7 separate regions of the Homo sapiens genome follow, and regions 1, 2, 4, 5, 6 and 7 are each linked to region 3. Evidence: promoter capture Hi-C in 16 types of primary human blood cells and fetal thymus (Javierre and others, 2016). All regions are on one chromosome and are shown on one strand. Each heading gives the region's core, a stretch centred on a gene start or on the middle of the fragment in contact. The rest is flanking DNA. Distances are from core to core; before and after follow the strand shown. Region 1 has its middle 2.3 kb from the start of PDE6H. Region 2 holds the start of PRH1-TAS2R14 (PRH1-TAS2R14 readthrough). Region 3 holds the start of HEBP1 (heme binding protein 1). Region 4 overlaps ATF7IP (activating transcription factor 7 interacting protein). Region 5 overlaps LOC124902877 (a long non-coding RNA gene). Region 6 holds the start of H4C16 (H4 histone 16). Region 7 overlaps ATF7IP (activating transcription factor 7 interacting protein).

Region 1 (2,700 bases), core at 198-2,697, 2.0 Mb after region 3:
CCATATAGCCCGATTACCTGGTTGATAAGATGAGAGACAAACTGACCAGAAATCAGCCATCACTAGACTAGGCAATGAACTATGAAGGGATCTGGTAAAACTACTCCATCCAACAGAGGTGATGTGTATTGATTGTTGCTTGCCCAGCCTACACCAATCCCCTGAGAGTCAGTAGGAGTCAGAGTAGCAGAGACAGGAAGAGCAGCCACTTCAAACAGGGAACAGTGGGTGAATCCTTGATCCAAGATGATGACCAGACCCTTAGAACCTCATAGTGCCTTGAACGATGTTTCGTTCTCCACCAAGCCTTGCTGAAGGTGGTTGAGTTTCTTATCTTCCATTTTTCTTTTCAGATAGACTAAAATTCTTTCTTTTATCATTTATTTTTTGTTTCAAAAAGTTTCCTTAGCCATCTTTTTAGAGTAGGTCTTCTGATTATAGATTCTCTTAGTCTTCCTTTGTTTGAGGATGTCATTATTTCCCCTTATTCCGAAGAAGGATAAATTCACATGACATAGAAGTGAGGGTTGACAGTTCTTTTTCTCAGGACATGAAAAATGTGCCATATCCTTCTAGTCCCCCTGGTTTCTAATGGGAAATCTGCTGTCAGTTGAGTTATTTTTCTTACAGATAAGGTGTTGCTTCTCTTTCACTGCTTTCTACTTTTTTTCTTTGTCTTTAGTTTTCTGAAGTTTAGCCATGGTGTATTTTGGTGTAGATTTCTTTGAGTTTATCCCACTGGGTTTTCCCACCTTCTTGATGTTACACAATTACGTCCTGCACTACATTTGGAACATTTTTAGCCATTATTTCTTCAAGTACTTTTTAAGCTTCATCTCTTTTCTCCTTTCCTTCTGAGATGCTGATGACATAAATATTAGGTCCTTTAGTCTCACAGATCTGTAAGGTTCTATTCATTTTTTTTGTGGGGGGGTGGGTTTATTTTCTGTCTTTTGTTCAGATTGGGTAATTTCTATTTTTCTGTCTTCAAGTTCACTGATTCTTTCTTCTTTATTCTCCATTCTGTTTTTGAGCCTATCCATTAAGTTTTTTATGTTGGTTATTCTATTTTTCAGTTCTAAAATCTTTATTTCATGCTTTTTTACATGCTGTGTTATTTCTGAATGGAGATGAAATTTCCCACTTGGGCTTCTTTGATACCGCTCTGGTAGGGAGAAGAAGGTGGCCTCGTTATGACTGGTTGGAGGTGAAAGTCCAAGATCCCAATGTGGCTTTCTCTGATGCTACTCAGCTAGGGTGGGAGAAAGAAGGTCACCCCGTTGTAGCTGAATCAAGATGAAAGTCTTGGCTCTCCACTCAGACTTTGCTGAGTCATGTCATGTTTTTTTTCCATGGTATTTGACTGGAGTAGGGCGGTTTTTGTTTAAATGTTTTTGTTCTTGCTAGTTTGCTACTCTCTTGGTCACTTGTCTAGAAAAAACAGGCTTTTGGGGAGGTTTTTTGTTTTTTCACTCCTCTTGGTGTTTTTGGGTTACTGTCTTTTCCTGCATCAACATCCGGATATACAAAAAGAAAATTCAGGAAACTTCCTGCCATATTGTTCCTCGCATCTAAAGCCTGTCTTTGGTTTTTCTTCTCTCAAATATTTTGAAATATTCCATATTTCTGTCATATATAGTATCCAGGATTTTTAGCTGTACTTAGCAAGAGGCATGAGAGGAAATGTGTCTACTTTACTTGGTCCAAAACAAGAAGGAACATAGATTTTTAAGACTGTAGAGTAATTTAAGAATTTTCTAATTCTAAACCCCTGAGAACCATATTAGAGTGGCTTTAGGAGAATTTTTCAAACTATACACCTAGACTTTCTCCACACTCCTAATCTCTCCCTCTTCTCTCTCCTGGATTTCCTTTGGAGGAAGAAGACTTATGGCACAACCACCCCCATATTCAAAAATTGAGAATCTGAGAATTGCAAGATTATCTTTCTCAAGTGTACTGGGATGGAAAAAAATTGAGAACCCCAACACTCTAAATCATTCATTTTACATATGAGGAAACTGAGACTCAGAGAGGTGACATATAGCAGATAAGTGGTAAACCCAAGCTTGCATATGGGTCTAGAACAGTACTTTTCAAACATTAATATGCAAACACATCACCTTGGACCTTGTTAAAAAGCAGATTCTGATTCGGTAAGTATGGAGCAGGGCTGAAATCCTGCATTTTTAACAAGTGCACAGATGGTGTTGCTGCTGCTGCACTTTGAGTAACAACATTCTAGAACATTCACTCAGCTTTTGGCACTTTCCACTGTCCTTAAAATTTGTATTCTTTCATCAAGAAAATGGAGAATATGTAAAAGTTTGACAGATAAGCATCTGAACATTAACGTGCCTGGTATGTAATAGTAAAGGAAGATGTGAATGGTAATGGAGATACAGAGGAGGGAGCAGAGGGACTCATCCAGAGACCAAACACTTTCCTGGCTTTGCAAGGTAATCATTGCTTTCAAAACTCAGAGGAATTTTGGTAAAGACCAGTGGAGAGCATATGAATGACTCTCAAGCTGTCTAGTTGCTCATGTAATCTGCTTAGGGCTGCAGGTTAAGAACCTCTCCCTGTCTAGAAAGGATAAATTGACCTTCTTTCTCTGTAATGTTATGGAGTGTAATTTTCTAATAGGTAACAACTGGGGAAAGAACATTGAAATTCACTGGCAAGGCATGGAAGTGACCA
Region 2 (2,733 bases), core at 199-2,698, 1.8 Mb before region 3:
GGCGGCGACACCTGGCTCATGGCCCCCGCGGCGGCTCCGTCCTCCTTGGCCGTCAGGGCCTCAAGCCCCGCCGCGACACCCACCTCGTACGGCGTCTTCTGCAAGGGGCTCTCCCGCACCCTGCTCGCCTTCTTCGAGCTGGCCTGGCAGCTGCGCATGAACTTCCCGTACTTCTACGTCGCGGGCTCGGTGATCCTCAACATCCGATTGCAGGTACATATTTAGAGCCATGACTAAGCTAACGGCCTCCGGGGCCAGCATGATGGCCGACTCCCAGGGTCCGTTGCGGCGCGGCGGAGCAGCCAATGGCGAGCCCCACAGTCTCGCGAGAGTGCTCAGGCGCTCTTCGTGGCTGCCCTCTTAGCTGCTAGCGGAGCTCCTCAGGGGGCGGCCGGGAGCCTACAATCCCTAGAAAGAGAATACGCTGTTCCGGAAACAGAACTGCAGTTAAGACCCTCGAAAACATCTAAGAAAGTGTGCATCCTAAAACACCTGACGAATTTCAGAATGTGACAAAGCGCAGAGGATGCATTATTTCAAAACAAAACAGAAGGCTAAAATTTGCAGGAAAAAGAAAATCAGTAAACCGGGAATCCTCGGACTGGATTGTAAGCAAGATTTCAATGAATAAGAAGCTGAAGGTATTAAGGCTGTGATATAGAAGGTACATATTTCATCCCACAAGAGAAAACAATAATAATCAGAAATTTTCGGTGAAAAAAACGCAAAACTGTACAGGAAAATCATCCTCCAAGTACCAGACATAAAATGCTGCAAGCTTTTGAACTAATGGCGAGAGTGTAAGAAAATGGGCTCTACTTCAGTGATCCTGTGGCAGGACGTGGATCAAGACTTGGAACCGCAGAAAACGAAATCCCATAGTAGCACAAAGCTTGGCTGTTCAGTGAATAACATTTAAATAATCGTAAAATACAAATGTTGTTTATGGTTTTTATTGTTTAAGGGCATACTTAATTATGGTTACAAAGTGGAGTGCAAATGTTATTTACCATGTTTTAAAAATACAGCCGGAAAATACAAGTGGGAATGTTGAAGGAGGGCGGGGGAAGTAAATGGAATGGGGGTTATGTCCTTATAAAGTGGAAACTTGAAAGGTACTGTCTGTTGTTGAGTGGGGAAAGACATTTTTATTACTTACAGGGTAGCCATAAAGTTTCTAAAACGGTAATATATTAAAGAGGGAGAGTGGTAGGGGAGAACAGTATGAAGTCAACAGGAAATGGCTAAAGATGGAGAGCTCAGGTAGAATAGTTTAAAAAATGAAAATTGATAGAGTACCTGGTGTATTTGAATACAGCCTAGAGAGCTTTCATTTTCCAAAGAGTGTGGGGATAAATTAGTGAATGCATATTTTTCAAAATTAAGAAAACAGAACATATAATTTTGAACGCTGAGAAAAATAAAAATTTAAAAACTACACTGTATACACGGTATACCTCAACTGTGAATAATAGTAGTCATGTAAAGTCAGTCATAATTATGTAAATACTGAATACTGATTTTACAACAAATGATTCTATAACGCTGGGAGGATGGGAGAAAAGAGATGTGTGTGTGTGTAATGGTGGTGAGCCAATCAAGATCTGATATAGAAAAATGCAGAAAAAGGAGTATACACATGTTTTCTTCGGATTAAAAAAACTAATAATAAATCACCAAGAGTGGTAAAGTTTTAAATCAAGATCTGATATAGAAAAGTGCAGAAAAAGTAGTATACGCATTTTTTTTTTCAGGAAAAAATTAACTAATAAACCACTAAGAGGGGTAAAGTGTTAAAATAGTTGCATTGTTCTATATTCCACTCATTGTGTCCAGCAAACAGTGTTCTATGGCTTTAAGTAGTAAGCATCTTGCCCCGTCCAACACCATGTCTGGCCTAGGGTAATTGTTCTTTCTAGTCTTTATTCTTTGTCTCCAGCCAAACTCCATTTGGGCACATTCTCCTATAGCCTTTTCTACCTGAAGATACTCTGTGTTTTAAAGCTAAGCTTAGGTGGCGCTTTTTCCATTAAATTTTTCCTGGATTCCACTGACCATATAGGAGCTCACTTCTTTTAATCCATAAGGCCATTTTCATAGGTTGCCTTATTTTTCCCTAATCGTGCATCAACTGTCTGTTTTATATACCCAAGACAGGTTTCCTAGACTGCGATAAGCCAAAACATTTTAGTCTAAAATATCAGAAGTGTAGTTTAATCAATGAAATAGTAATACCAAGGGATTTAGAATCGTGGACATCACTGTTTCCCAGAGCACTGATGTCCCAATTTGTAACACAAAAGACTGTCTAGTCTTAATCCTGAAATGGTGACAGAGTAGGATGCTCCATTTGGGTGACTATGTGAACATATTCCTATAACTTTTTTCCTCACATCAGTCATTTGTTAAACCGAAGATGAAGAAACAGACTTTGTATTTATTACATCCTCCAACATAATTGGCAGCTCTGTGAGGGAAGACACTATATCCTATTCAATTTTACACCCGGTAGTAACAGTATGTGTGTGTACTGTATATATACATATATATATACATACACATATATAAATTTAAGTAGTAACTATATATGTATATATGTATAGTTACTACTTACTATATATGTATACAGTATATAAGTATATATGTATAGTTACTACTTACAATATATGCATAAAGTTACAGCTTACATTTACCTCGTAATATATGTATATATATATATTAGGAGTTAAATGT
Region 3 (2,716 bases), core at 91-2,590:
TACCCAACTCCAGAGGATCTAACTGGCCAAAAGCAATGGTACAGCTCTGGGCCTTTGTGCATGCTCTTCTCTGTTGTGTGCACTCCTACACATCCCTGAGGCCCCAGCTCAGGACACTCCACTGAGGTCCCCATCATAGCCCCCTGGCAGAATTGACTGCCTCTGTGCTCCCTGCGTAGCGCATTTATATCTATTCTGCACAGATCTTGTTCTTTTACACAGTAGTCCCCCTTATCTATAGTAGATACCTTCCAAGCCCCCCAGTGGATACCTGAAACGGTGGACAAAACTGAACCCTGTATCTACTACGTTTTTTCCTATACATACATACCTATGATATAGTTTAACTTTATCAATTAGGCACAGTAAGAGATGAACAACAATAATAAAATAACAGCAATTATAACAATATGCCAGCATTGCTAAGCTTGCACTTTGGGGCCATTACTAAGTAAAATAAGGGTTACTTCAATACCGCCACGGTCGATCCGATCACCAAGCTAGCTACTAAGTGACTAAGGGCGGCTACTAGAGATAGGAGGCTGACCTTGGACAAAGGGGCATTCCGGTCCCAGGAATCAAGATTTCATCCTGCTACGCAGAATGGCCGGAAACTTAAAACTTAGGACTTCTGTATTTCTGGAATTTTCCATTTAATAGTTATGGACAAGAGCTGACCACAGGTAACTGAAATCGCGGATAAAGGGGGCTACTATCCGCAGTTCTCTAGTACTTGGGAGTTTCTTGCGACACTCATTTCTGCAACCGAGTGTCTCTCAACAAATCAAACTGTTCGGAATGTTTGGAATATTTTAAACGAAAGAATGCATTCAACAGGCAGTGCCCAACTCCCCAAGTTGGGATTCTCTCCTTGGATCAGTCTCTCCTGTTTACCCCCCTCCTCTCACCACCGGCTGCAGGGGGACCTCTCACTCCTTTCCTTCCCAGTCCAAATGCTGGGCGGTGGAGAGCCGCACTCGCGACAGACACCAGAACGCACCTTCGATAGCACATTCCTGCCCCACCTGCCCCTCAGCACCCGCTGCAGCCCCGACGAGGGTGGGGGTGGGAGGCAGCAATCCTTCAGGTCCTCGGCAGCCCTGCGGGCCTACCTTGTCCCCTTTGCTTAGGACCTGCCAAGGCCACGTCTCTACGCTTCCGAACAGCGAGTTCTTGATCATGCCCAACATGTTGTAGCCGAGACGCTCCCGACGCACGGGAGGACGTGAGGTGGCGGGGGCGACGGAGCACCACGGGCAGCGACCACCGGCGGCAGGGCGGCAGGGCGGCAGGGCGGCAGGGCGGCAGGGTGGCAGGGCGGCAAGGCGGCGGGACGGCGAGGCGGCGAGGCGAGAGGCGGGGCTAGAGGCAGGGGCCAGAGGGCGTGGCTAGAGGGCGGGGCGGCAATTCAGCCCGGCGGTGAGGCAAGGGGGCGGGACGGCGAGGTGAAGGGGCGGAGAGAGAGGGCGGGGCGGCGAGGCGAGGGGGCGGAGAGAGGGCGGGTCAGTGATGCGAAGGGCGGGCAGCAGGGCAGCAGTGCAGCAGTGCAGCAGTGCGGTGAGGCGAGGGTGCGAGGCGGCTAAGCAAGGGATGGGCCCGCCGTGGCGAGCCGCTGGGCCGTGTTCCGCCTCCTTTCGGGCTTTCCGCGGGTGTCTGGGGAGGGAACCCGGCCGCGGGCCTCAGGCCGTCCCCCTCCGCAGACCCCTTCTCTTATTCTGAGTCTAACCTATCCGCTGGGGCCCTGGAAAGCGATTCTCGCCTGGAGTGGCTTTAGGCAGCGGTGGTGGGGAACGTCCTCTCTCAGGTGCCTGGGCTCCAACCTCCGAGCCCCGGGTTGCTCACGCTTCTCCGGTCCTCTACCCGAAGGCTCGATCCCGCTGGTACAGCGGCGGCCAGGCTCCCTGTCTTGGTAGCTGTCCCTCTACCCCCGCCCCATGACCTCTTCTAGACCATTGAAAGAGCATCCAAACCACTTTCCTGCTGCCACTCTTTCCTACCATCCCTCTAAATCACAGTTTCCAGGTGACTTTTCTAAGCATGGCTTTTCTCGTTCACTCCTGTTCAAAAATCTTCTCACCAATTTTGTCACCATTTACTCAGCTGAGTGCCTGCTTTCTGTCAAGTATTTTACCAATAAATCTCTACTCCACACCACCGACAAGAAATATTTTGGAGCCATTTAAAAAGGAGGAAACGGAAGCTTCTGCCGCTGCCTGATCCTCCATTGCTCCGAGCCGCGCGGGTGCAGCGGGCTGTGGAGCCGCGGGCCGAGCCCCGCCGGAGCGCCCGAGAGCCCGCGCGTCCCGGGCGTCCGTCGGGGTCCGAGGTCCCTCCCTCAGGGAGTCCCCGCTCGGCAGCGCTCTCGCGTTTCACGCAGCGGCCGGGGATCTGGGACAGGCGGGGCCCCGAGGCCGAGCCTGGCGCTGCCCAGCGGCCGGTGCAGGCCTCAAGCTGGGCCGGGCGGAGGGGAACCGGCGAGTTGAAGCCCCGGGGCCGAAAGCCGGAGCCTGTGGCGGCCGCGGGGGTGGGGAGGGGGGTGGGGCGGCTTCTTGGGCAGCGCCACACGGCGGCGCAGTGATGGATGTTAACAGCAGCGGCCACCCGGACCTCTACGGGCGCCTCTGCTCTTTCCTCCTGCCGGAGGTGGGGGGCAGGCTGCCCGACCTGAGCCCCGACGGTGGCGCCGAACCGGTCGCGGTCTCCGGGACGCCGCATC
Region 4 (2,700 bases), core at 103-2,602, 1.4 Mb after region 3:
GTTGGTAACCTTGTCTAGGGAATTGTTGGTAAAGCAAACTCCCAGTTTCCTTTGTGGTTGGTTATTTTTTACAATTTAGTTTGGGGATATTGCATTCCACATTTTGGTCGGTGACAGGCAGAGGGGTTAATTTGTGAAAGTGTCAAATATTATGATCACTTGATAACTTACTCAACTGAGTTTATGAGTATTTGATAAACAGATTTCACCACTTACTGTTTTTTTTTTTTTTTAAGATGGCAGGATAGCTAGTGACAGTTATTTTATACCAGTTAAGAGAACCGTAGCTGACAATGCAACAGTGTAACATCTGTTTACATAGCCTTTATGTTATACTGGGTATTATAGGTAATTTAAAGATAATTTAAAGTATACAGCAATATGTGCATAGGTTATATGCAAATACTACACTACTTTATATAAGGGACTTGAACATTGTCAGATTTTGTTATCTGTAGGGAGTCCTGGGACCAGTCTCCCACAAATACTGATGGACATGGTATTTAAAATAAAAATTTCAAAATCTTTATACTAAATTTGAGCAGATAAGTATCAAAGTGAGTGAACAGATTCAGTAGTCTATTTAATGGGCAGTAAGCAGTAAAGCAGATTATTAGCATCTTTTGTGCAACCCACTATTCTTTATGATTTTATTTTTAGAGTATTGCAAATTCTCAAGCAAAATTTAGAAGTGTAAAATAAAATCATACAGTTTTCAACTGAGAATGGGATTCTTAAAGAATCTAATAGCAGAGTTGCATTTCTAAAGAGGTTAGAAATTATCAGCATAAAGTGATTATTTAATATTTAATTCAGCCATTTAATGAAAATAAACTCAAATTAAAATTATTTTCAGTAGAAAAATGAATGAAATTTTTATTCAGAAAAATGTTGTACTCTCAGGCAACAGCATGAATATAATTGGAATGCCTTTGTCAAAGATAGAAATGCCATGTCCACTTAAAAGGTTTTGCTTGATGTTTTCTAAGCTTTTGCTTTAGTTTTATTTTGAAGTATACTTCATCAGATATTCATTACTTTGAATTAATACAGCATTTGTTTTGTCTATGTGTTGTATATGCTTTTTGACCCAACAATCGTGGTACTTAGTTAAGTCTGTTCTTGGAAAGCAGTACAGACCCTAGTTTATTTAATCAAAGAAACCCTACCATGACCTGTTTTTCAAACAGAGCATCTAGAGTTATATTCCTAATGTTTCCATTTCATTGTTCACCTTGATTTTCACATCCTTTGCATTTTTAATAGAGCTCTTGCCCTCATCTTCTTCCCTTGTTGCTGGGCAAGGTTTGTGACACTGATGTCTGATTGGTTTTAGACTATTTCGGCTTTGAGCCAATCAGACAGTGAATTTCAGTTCTCTCACAGGACTGAAACATTGAAGCAGCTGTTGATATATTTTTCCTGTGGGGAGATTATATAAACTAAGAGTATGGCTGCAGCAAGCTCCCTCTTGGGTATGTTTGAAAAATTACAAGGTTCATCTGTAAGGAAGGGGGGAAATGAGGTTTATTTTTAAAACTTGGTTATTAAGAACACCTAATAAGTAGTGAATTTGAGAAAAAAATTCTGATAACAAATTTTCCATTTTTATTTTATAATCCTATATTTAAAGAACTATAGAATGGTGTAATATAATAAAAATGTCTTTAATTTTCATGAATATTTACTTTGTAATCCACACATTTGTTTTATAATAAAGCTTTGAAAGGATATCTCATATAACCTTTTGTAACTTGCTGCGAAAGGCAGTTAAGGAGAAAAGGATGTAGTAATTGTACTTATACCACTTAATATAGGTTGTCCAGAATCAGACATTTAGATTTCATTAGATGAATTAAACTAAGTCAGTTCAGTGCAGTAGACAGCACAACACTTCATAATACTATCCCTAGTAATCCTTTGGGTCCAGAATACTATTAATTTTTGGAATCGGAAATCTGTAACAATAGTGGTAGATGGGTATGAAGATTTTTTTTTTACTTGTCTGGATTTAAGGTTTTGCTAGATTTATATATTTTATATGTATGGTCTATGGAATTTTTAAAAAGAAATTTACATTTGAATTTTGCATTGTATAGAAAAATATGTTCTTACGTATATTGTCCATGTTTGACTTATTCCTCAGGTAGGAAATTAATTTATATTAATGTATATTTCTTGAAATGTTCATGGATATTTATTAAAGCAAATAGCATAAAAGATGTAAATCTTATCCATTTATGTGTGTGGTATATTTAATGCGTGTTACGTGGATTTAGGGTTTTATGTAAACTGTGTTCTAGATTACTTATTTCAAACAAAGAACCACACTTAAGTATTGCAGATACAGTTTTTGTTTAACTATGTTTTTCTGACCTTATTGTCTGTCTCCTGTTGCTGGGCAGGAATCAGAATGCTGGCTGCTGATTGGCTGAGTTTGTGAGCAGCTCTTGAACAGCCATTTAAATTCTTGAGCTTTTTGAGCAGGCAGATTGTAGGCTAAGACATAACAGCTTCCCTTTGTTGTTTCATTGCTATGATCTCTTGCTAGAAAGAAGTGGGTGGAGGGGGATGAAGCAGAGAAGAGAGTAATGTTTTCATTTAAAGAAGAAGCTCGTTGGGCTTTCCTTAAAAATATTTTAAAAATAATTTACCAAAAATTTGAAAAAAAAATTTCCAAGCCAGAGAGACTTATTTGCA
Region 5 (2,755 bases), core at 180-2,679, 1.5 Mb before region 3:
GGGCTCGAAGTGTTGATCTCCTGGAGAGCCTGGTCACCTCCAAGCCATAGGGCTTACAGTAGGCTGTCTTCAAACAAGCAAGGAAGTAATAGGCTTTCTACCGCAACTCAGATCTAGGTTTCAGGACTCATTCTAGGGACAGCTGCAACTGCCAAGTAGACTATGAGGAAACTTTCTCAGTGTTCTAGAAAAAAAAAAATGGAGGAGAAGGTGGGGAGGGGGAAGGAGAAAGAGAGTTAAAACAAAACAAAGAGAAAGACGGAGAAAATTAATGATTATATCAGGCCTCTCCCAACTCCCTCCTCTTTCCCTGGAGCACAGGACTAAATGTTAAGAAGAGAAGGATGAGATTTCTACCATAACTGAGGAAAACTACAAAACATGAGAGTCTGAAGAGACAATAAGGAAGATAGAGGCCAATCCTGTAATTTTTCAGATGAAGAAAGTAAGGCCCAGGGAGAAGAAATTACTGTATTCAGATCACACAGTTATAAGGATTCGAGCCAATACTGGATCTTAACCCAGTGTTTACTATTCTGTGCAGTGTTCCATTATTCGTGGATTGCTAACAATGAAAGAAAGCATAGAAATGATATAGTTCAACCTCCTTATTTTAAAATAAGAAAAGATATATTGAGAGAGGTCAAATAATTTGCTCAAAGTCACAGTTGGCTTTTTGCTACCAATCCAAGCTTCTTTTCCCTAGTCTTTGCATATACACACAACAATGTTTTGAATAATTTCAAAATTATTTCAAAAATTAACCCAGAGTAAATGTACTTATTCAGGAAAGTAGTGGAAATAGGAAATATAGCAAACATAAAAACACCTCACCCCTATGACTCAATTTATACTGGTCCATGAACAGTTAACAGTTTTCAACACTTAACACTTCTCTTCCCGTGCTAGCTGGCAGCCAGAGTTATTCTGCAAAACTGTGTTTCCAAGTCCTCAAGAGGAATACATGTGTAAGTGTGCTTTAAATTTGCAAATGTTTTATCTTTGAGATCCTTAAACAGTAACACTATTAATCTTCATCTTCAAGCTGCTAAGTTTGTTATGATATGTTTATACGTGTGTGTGTGTGTGTGTGTGTGTGTGTCTACGCAGAACTTTTTTTGGCTGGTCATGTGACTCCTAGAACTGTATCCTTCCATCCACTATGCATTTCCCTATGTAAATAATATTAGCTTTCACTGGTGATGGCAACAAGACAGAAGGAATGAGGTCAAGGAGGAAATAAATTTGGATAGAAAGAAGCCGTCAAAACCCTGTGAATAAAATTCACAAGCGAGTTTCGGTGACTCATAAGAGCACAGAGAGGAGACACAGGGATTATTCAGGAGCAGGTTCCTGTAGGGTAGCAGGAGCTGCACAGCAGGAGTGTGGAGGGGCACAGGTCAGCACCAGGATGCACCAAGGGCACCTGGGAAGTGCTGAGGGCCAGGCCACACTTAACTCGGGTCTGTGCCCTGCAGTGGGAAGAAGCCTCAGAGTATTTTCATCCTGCGAATCTCCTCTGTGCAAGAAAAGACCAGTTGATGTCCTTGAAAACTTTCCTATTTGACCAGTTCATTCTTATTTCAAAATTTTATATTATTATATTTTTTAGAGACAGGGTCTCGCTATGTTGCCCAGGCTGGACTCGAACTCCTGAGCTCAGTGAGACTCCCACCTCAGCCTCCTGAGTTGCTACCATGCCCAGCTTGCCCAGTTCATTTTTAATGAGGCCAAACACATTGGTCATGCAGCTCACAAACAAAAGGGAATGTCTGTAGTTCTGGTCAGTCACAAACTCATTGTACTTTACAGAGAAAACTCCATGCAGAATGTTGAAATATCATCCTCTAAAGGTTGACTCTAAGTATACAGAAGCAGTGTAGGGGCACAGACAGCTCAGTTGAGCACTCAGCACATCAAACAAGAAAGCATGTGGTGGTTTCCCTCTACCCAGAGCAGGGTCTGATACGGAGGAGCAAGCCTGGACTTTGTCCTTGGGCAAATTGCCCCATTAGGGGAGGAAGGAGCCCACTCTCCAGACTTTCTGGTTTGAAGCAGTACCTGGGTCTGAGCAGAGTGAGGAACACTTCCTGCTACAGCCAAACTAGACTAGCCTGGGCCCTGAGATCCATGACCTCACATGTGCCTTTTTCTCCAGGCACACTGGAAAGCTTAGTCCCCCCGCCCCCGTGACTGTCTGTTCCCGAGATAGTCCCTTTGCATGGAGAATCCGTGCCCATCCCACCCACCCCCACACCATAAAAAGTCAATGTTAGAAGGTTTGAATGGATTTAGTGATCATGCACTCCAACCCTGCCTATCTGTTCATCAAAGTCCACTTCAAATACCACTTTATAAAGACATTGTGGTTCTTCTGTCTCCCAATTCATTATTACTTTGGTGCTCTGTTATGGTATACATCACATTCAGTCTTGTATTAGAGTTGTTTGTGTACATATTTTCTGCCCTCACTCCAAGGCCAGCTTAAAACTTATAAATCTTAAAATATTTTGGCCTCCTAAAAATTAAACAGTATCATTCATAGTTTCCACTATTAAATATTTTATGCTTTTGGAATAAAATATGTCATTCTTCACCCCCTCTCCCAAAAACCCCAAAACTTTGTTCCTCTGCTTTTCTAGTTTCCCGTGTGCTGCTTAGTGGGTTTTCCAGCAGCCCTGGTCCCAAGCACATGAGGGACTGTTAGCATTTTCAAGACAAAAGTATCCTTAACTCCTCTTCATGAGCCTGCGAA
Region 6 (2,735 bases), core at 154-2,653, 1.8 Mb after region 3:
CTGTAGAGAAGCTGTGGGGACAGCTCAACCGCCGAAACCATAAAGGGTGCGACCCTGGCGTTTCAGCGCGTACACCACATCCATGGCCGTGACGGTCTTGCGCTTGGCGTGCTCCGTGTAAGTCACCGCGTCACGGATCACGTTCTCCAGGAAGACTTTGAGGACTCCCCGGGTCTCCTCGTAGATGAGACCAGAAATGCGCTTGACGCCCCCACGTCGGGCGAGACGGCGAATCGCCGGCTTTGTAATGCCTTGGATATTGTCCCGCAGCACCTTCCGGTGGCGCTTGGCGCCTCCCTTACCCAGCCCCTTGCCACCTTTACCTCGCCCAGACATTCTGAAATCACAGCGCCTACTCAGCAGAAAATCGGGCTGCCCACTGTGATTGCCAGTCGCAGACCAGGGCTTATAGTCTCTCGATGCGGACCTGTTTGAAAACATCAAAAAAGTGGGCGGAGCTCTAGGCCCCACCTCTGGAGACATGCTATAGTTGTTAAGTCCAGGAAGCAGTCAGCGAAACCAGCCTGATTTTTTTGTTGTTTGCTCTTTTGGGAAAATTTTTTCTGATGTTTGGAGAAAGGTTCATGGTGATACGTTTTAAAGTTAAAACAGTATGAGCTAAAAGAATTTATATTGCCTTTTCTCAGCGCTTAAATAAAAGTAGGCCAGATCCTATGCACGTTCCTTGTTCTGTCCCTCCCTCCTTCTGTTTTTTCAAACGGAATTCCTGACTTACTATGAAACTCTATAAAAACCTGAAAAGCTTTACATCCGAGATTTCAAAGCAATTACTTAAAATTTAAAATTTTTCACACGTGGGTCTTCTGAAGACATAGTAGGGGGAGAGGACTTTTTTCTCTTTTACGGCCCTGCAGATAATTAAAATTCTTTCAATTGAAAAAAGAAAGTGCAGCTTCCCGTCCCCCACCTACACTCCACCCCCACCTCCCCCCGACCCCCGCCATTCCCCTTTCAGCTGCTTCTGCGCAATTTGCAGGTTTTCCTGCCCTGCAAGAGCCTGTGTGCTTTTCAACCAAGTAACTTCCTGTGGTTATTTAGTTGAAATATTGTCAATGTCTTATGTCATTCAAATCTCAGGTTCTCATCTCACATTTTCCACTTAAAAATTCAAAGTTCTTGTAAAACAATGGATGCCACAATCATGACTTGGAATAATGATTTCTACTGCAAATCCCCTCAGGAGGTTCTGAATCCCTTCCTTTCTCAAGAGAATCCCTGAACAAAAACGAAAGTTTCTGTAAGGTGTCACCGCTCTTCAAAGGTGTCAGGACCCTGTCTTCTCTAAAGGTTTTACTGTGTTAAAAAGCAGCTGTTATTTAGAGGATGAGTCATAAGTCTTTCCCAGGTAGTTAATTAGGATTCTGAGCAATGAATTTTAGTAAGTGGGGCTTCTTTGTCCCTGGTCTTGAAGATAAGCCTTTACAGCAGGAAGACTTTATGGTAAAATTTTGTTATATTTATAAATGCCTATAGTTTACATTTGTTTCAATCCATGCCCATCTTCATAACCCAAAAGGTATTTATTTTTCTTTTACTTTTTGTTAAAGATAAAAGAGTTGGAACACTGTCTTGAATGGCTGGAAAAAGTCCTGAATGGTCGAACTTCACTCATGATTTTAATATTTGACTCAGAGGGAAGAGGAAAAGTCTATCAGATCTTGAAGAGATAAGAATTATTGTAATGGGGCCGGGCGCGGTGGCTCACGCCTGTAATCCCAGCGCTCTGGGAGGCCGAGGAGGGCGGATTACGAGGTCAGGAGATCGAGACCATCCTGACTAACATGGTGAAACCCCATCTCTACTAAAAATACATAAAAATTAGCCGGGCGTGGTGGCGGGCGCCTGTAGTCCCAGCTACTCGGGAGGCTGAGGCAGGAGAATGGCGTGAACCCGGGAGACGGAGCTTGCAGTGAGCCGAGATCGCGCCACTGCACTCCAGCCTGGGCGACAGAGCGAGACTCCGTCTCAAAAAAAAAAAAAAAAAATTATTGTAATGGTAAAATCGGTTGACTTACTTATAGTTAAGCTTTCTAAGAAATCAAGACTAGAACATTTTCAAATTAGAAATCTCTTGCTTATTGGAATAAAAGAAAAAAAATCGTGTCTAAAATAGTAATACTTTTAAAAACTCTTGAAAATTCCCCAAGATACAGGCAAAAATTTAAGCTAGTTTACAGAACTCATTCCAGGAACATCTCGTTAAAAACTGCATCAGAGATTTGTATGCCCATTTATTTGGTATATCTAAGAGTTATTGGATGCTTACTAACGTATTTAATTTTCAAAACACTTTGATACAGGTAGAGGAGTCAAATAACTTATCAAAGGTCACTGCTCAGTGGTAAAGCCAGGATTTAGGCTGAGGCAGACTGGCTCCGGAAAGACCGCCTAAACCATGACAATAGCTCTGAAGACATTTATTGAGTCCCCAGTATGGGTTCATCATTGTTCTAGGCAGTAATGACATATACATAAATATTTGAAAATGTTATTTCAATGAAGTCAAATCTTTATTCGGATAGTGAGAAGGTAAATTTGCTTTACTTTAAATGTAAATGAATCCACATAAAATGTTTATTTTAAAAAGCAAGCGTTCAACATTACATCACGTATCGGTGTTAACTGTGTTACTGAAAATGTTCAGGTAAAAATGAAATGACCTCGATGAATTAGGAGAAAGTAATTTTTAATTAAAACAAAACACTTGAAACACT
Region 7 (2,726 bases), core at 31-2,530, 1.5 Mb after region 3:
TGAACTCCTGACCTCAAGTGAGCCACCGCACCTGGCCTTAGGCTTTTTTTGTTAGGAGATTTCTATTACTGATTAAGTCTCCTTAATAATTATAGATTTATTTATTTATTTACTTTTAATAATTCAGTCTTGGTGGGTTGTGTGTTTTTAGGAATTTATTTCTTCTAGGTAATCAAGTTTGCAGGTGTGTAATTGTTCATTGTAGTCTCTTGTAATCCTTCCCATTTATGTAGCATCAGTTCTAATGTCTTCTCTTTCTTTCATTTCTTTTCATCTTTAAAGTCATCTGTTTTGTTAGTTAGCCTAGTTAAGGATTTATCAATTTTGCTGATTTTTTTTAAACCAACTTTTAAGTTTTGTTTTTGTTTTTCTATTCTCTATTTTTGTTTACTTCCACCCTAATTTTCATTATTTCTTTCCTCTTGCTAATTTTGGGTTTAGTTTTTCCCCTCTAGTTCTTTGAGTTGTAAAGCTAGATTGTTGATTTGAGATCTTTGTGTTTGTGTTTTACCACTATAAACTTCCTTCTTACCACTGTTTTCACTGCATACAATTTATTATATTTTGTTTTCATTTTCATTTGTCTGAAGATATCTTGTAATTTACCTTCTTCTTTGACTTGTTGGTTTTTTTTTTTAAACAGCATGTTTAATTTTCACATATTTGTGACTTTTCCTACTTTTCTTCTGCTGTTGACGTCAAGTTTCATTCCATTATTGTCAGAAAAGATACTTGGTATGATTTCATTCTTTCTAAATTTGTTAAGACCTGGGTTGTGACATGCGACCTATCCATGAGAATTTTCTATGTGCTCTTGAGAAGAATGTGTATTCTGCTGTTGTTTGATCCAAGCTTATCCTATGTGTCTGTTAGGTCCAATTAGCATATAGTGTTGTTAAAGTTCTCTGTTTCTGTGTTGATATTCTGTCTGATGGTTCTATCCATTATTGAAAGTGGGGTATTGAAGTTTCCTACTATCATTGTGTTACTGTCTGTTTCTCCCTTCCATTCTTTCAATGTTTGTTTCATATATTTGGAGCTCTGATGTAGGGGTGTGTGTGTGTGTGTTACAGCTGGTGAAAGTACCCTTTTATCATTATGTCCTTCATTGTCTGTTTTGACAGTTTTTGACCTAAAGTCTATTTTGTCATACATAAGTATGGCCCATCCTTACTCTCTTCTTGTTACCATTTGCATGGTAATATTTTTCCATCCTTTCACTTTCATTCTGTGTTGTATTTTGGATCCAAAGTGAGCCTCTTGTAGGCACCATATAGTTGGATCTTATTTTAAAAAACATTAAGTCAACCTGTCGTTTGATTGGAGAATTTTATCCATTTGCATTTAAATAAACTGCTCATTGGAAGGGACTTATTGTTGTCATTTTGTTTTTTTCTCTATGACTTGTAGCTTTTTTTTGTTTCTTGATTCCTTTGTGTTTCATTGCTTTTTGTTTTTCTTTTGGTATAGTAGTGTGCTTTCATTCCTTTTACAGTTCGTTTTGTGTATTTTCTTTAGATGTTTCCTCTGTGGTTACCGTGGGGATTACATAAAACATCCTAAAGTTACAACTGTCTATGTTAAACTGCAAATAACTTTAATCATATAAGAGCGCTAGTCTATATCTGCCTCACTATGACTTGATGTTACTGTTGTCGTATATCACATCTTTTTATGTTGTGTATCTGTTAACATATTTTTAGTTTTTTTAAGCTTTTAAGTTCTATACCAGAATTAAAAGTGGTTTATGCACCAATATAACAAGAATACAGGATTCTGTATTTTTCTCCTTATCAACATTTTCTTAGAGAAGTTTATATTTTTGTATGCTTCCATGATGCATACACTCTTTAGTTTCCACGTGAAGGGCTTTCTTCAGCACTTCTTTTAGGACAGGTATAGTGATGAAACTCCTTCAGCTTTTACTAATCTGGGAAAAATTTTAATTTCACCTTCATTTTTGAAGCATATTATTGCCAGGTATAGTATTCTTGATTGGCAGGTCTTTGATTCAGCCCTTTGATAATATATTATCTCACTCCTTCAGGCCTACAAGATTTCTGCTGAGATATCTGCGTGTTATCTTATGGGAGTTCCCTTGTGTGTTGTTATGAGTTGCTTTTCTCTTACTGCTTTCAAGATTATTTACTGTGATTCAGACAGCTTGGTTATAATGTATCTCAGTGTAGATGTTTTTGGGTTAACAATAGTTGGAGGTCTTTGAGCTTCTTGAATTTGCATCTCCATTTTCTTCTTCCAGTTTCAGACATTTTCAGCAATTATTTATCTTTCTCTCTGTCTTCCTTTACTTCCCTTATGTGTATATTGGTCTGCCTGTTGGTGTCCCAAAAGTCCTTTAGACTTTCTTAGCTTTTTTTCATTCTCTTTTTGCTCCTCTGGCTTGATAATTTCAAATGACCTGTCTTCAAACTTGTGGACTTATTTTTCGGTTTGATCCGGTCTGCTCTTGATTCTCTACAGTGAATTTTCATTTCAGTGTATTCTTCAGCTTTTTAATTTGTATTATGATACGTTTTTACAGTTTCTCTTTGTTGATATTTTCATTTTGTTCATGCACCCTTTTCCTGATTTTGCTGTTTTCTGTCGTCTCTTTCACTTTCACCTAATTGAGTATCTTTTTTTTTTTTGAGAAGGAGTTTCGCTCCTGTCGCCCAGGCTGGAGTGTAACGGCGCAATCTCCACTCACTGCAACCTCCGCCTCCTGG

The links. Contacts are between HindIII fragments. The CHiCAGO score rates a contact against its expected background, and 5 or more counts as called.
Region 1: a fragment that was not itself captured here is called in contact with the fragment with the promoter of HEBP1 in region 3 in 1 of 17 cell types (M0 macrophages); the score reaches 5.9 in M0 macrophages.
Region 2: a fragment that was not itself captured here is called in contact with the fragment with the promoter of HEBP1 in region 3 in 3 of 17 cell types (activated CD4 T cells, non-activated CD4 T cells and fetal thymus); the score reaches 7.7 in activated CD4 T cells.
Region 4: a contact is called between a fragment that was not itself captured here and the fragment with the promoter of HEBP1 in region 3, in 4 of 17 cell types (erythroblasts, M0 macrophages, total CD8 T cells and 1 more). The highest score is 6.3, in erythroblasts.
Region 5: a contact is called between a fragment that was not itself captured here and the fragment with the promoter of HEBP1 in region 3, in 4 of 17 cell types (non-activated CD4 T cells, total CD4 T cells, activated CD4 T cells and 1 more). The highest score is 8.7, in non-activated CD4 T cells.
Region 6: a fragment that was not itself captured here is called in contact with the fragment with the promoter of HEBP1 in region 3 in 1 of 17 cell types (erythroblasts); the score reaches 5.0 in erythroblasts.
Region 7: a contact is called between a fragment that was not itself captured here and the fragment with the promoter of HEBP1 in region 3, in 1 of 17 cell types (M2 macrophages). The highest score is 5.2, in M2 macrophages.

The regions. Positions count from the first base shown.
Region 1 is chr12:14,969,372-14,972,071 of GRCh38, forward strand. No RefSeq gene overlaps it. Among named protein-coding and RNA genes, the nearest start is that of PDE6H, 2.3 kb to the right of the region's middle. The HindIII fragment of the contact is 1,238 bases long and covers 829-2,066 here.
Region 2 is chr12:11,171,339-11,174,071 of GRCh38, forward strand. It overlaps PRH1-TAS2R14 (PRH1-TAS2R14 readthrough), which reads right to left and starts at 273. Exons shown (of 5, transcript NM_001316893.2): 1 at 84-273. It overlaps SMIM10L1 (small integral membrane protein 10 like 1), which reads left to right. Exons shown (of 1, transcript NM_001271592.2): 1 at 1-2,733. The coding sequence starts at 19. The coding sequence ends at 225. It overlaps PRH1-PRR4 (PRH1-PRR4 readthrough), which reads right to left and starts at 287. Exons shown (of 10, transcript NR_037918.2): 1 at 84-287. It also overlaps a transcript of PRH1 not described here. The HindIII fragment of the contact is 1,117 bases long and covers 891-2,007 here.
Region 3 is chr12:12,998,925-13,001,640 of GRCh38, forward strand. HEBP1 (heme binding protein 1) reads right to left here and starts at 1,341. Exons shown (of 4, transcript NM_015987.5): 1 at 1,113-1,341. The coding sequence starts at 1,190. All of the region lies in intron 2 of GPRC5D-AS1 (GPRC5D and HEBP1 antisense RNA 1), which reads left to right. It also overlaps the pseudogene HTR7P1. RefSeq lists silencers at 1,206-1,355, 1,406-1,525, 2,286-2,435. The HindIII fragment of the contact is 1,773 bases long and covers 426-2,198 here.
Region 4 is chr12:14,415,474-14,418,173 of GRCh38, forward strand. The region is part of intron 1 of ATF7IP (activating transcription factor 7 interacting protein); the gene reads left to right. Among named protein-coding and RNA genes, the nearest start is that of ATF7IP, 51 kb to the left of the region's middle. The HindIII fragment of the contact is 731 bases long and covers 988-1,718 here.
Region 5 is chr12:11,542,669-11,545,423 of GRCh38, forward strand. All of the region lies in intron 2 of LOC124902877 (a long non-coding RNA gene), which reads right to left. Among named protein-coding and RNA genes, the nearest start is that of LINC01252, 4.0 kb to the right of the region's middle. RefSeq lists an enhancer at 1,838-1,897. The HindIII fragment of the contact is 1,479 bases long and covers 691-2,169 here.
Region 6 is chr12:14,770,749-14,773,483 of GRCh38, forward strand. H4C16 (H4 histone 16) reads right to left here and starts at 383. Exons shown (of 1, transcript NM_175054.2): 1 at 1-383. The coding sequence starts at 336. The coding sequence ends at 25. RefSeq lists enhancers at 1-201, 1-195. The HindIII fragment of the contact is 1,284 bases long and covers 762-2,045 here.
Region 7 is chr12:14,450,994-14,453,719 of GRCh38, forward strand. The region is part of intron 6 of ATF7IP (activating transcription factor 7 interacting protein); the gene reads left to right. Among named protein-coding and RNA genes, the nearest start is that of PLBD1-AS2, 78 kb to the right of the region's middle. The HindIII fragment of the contact is 861 bases long and covers 851-1,711 here.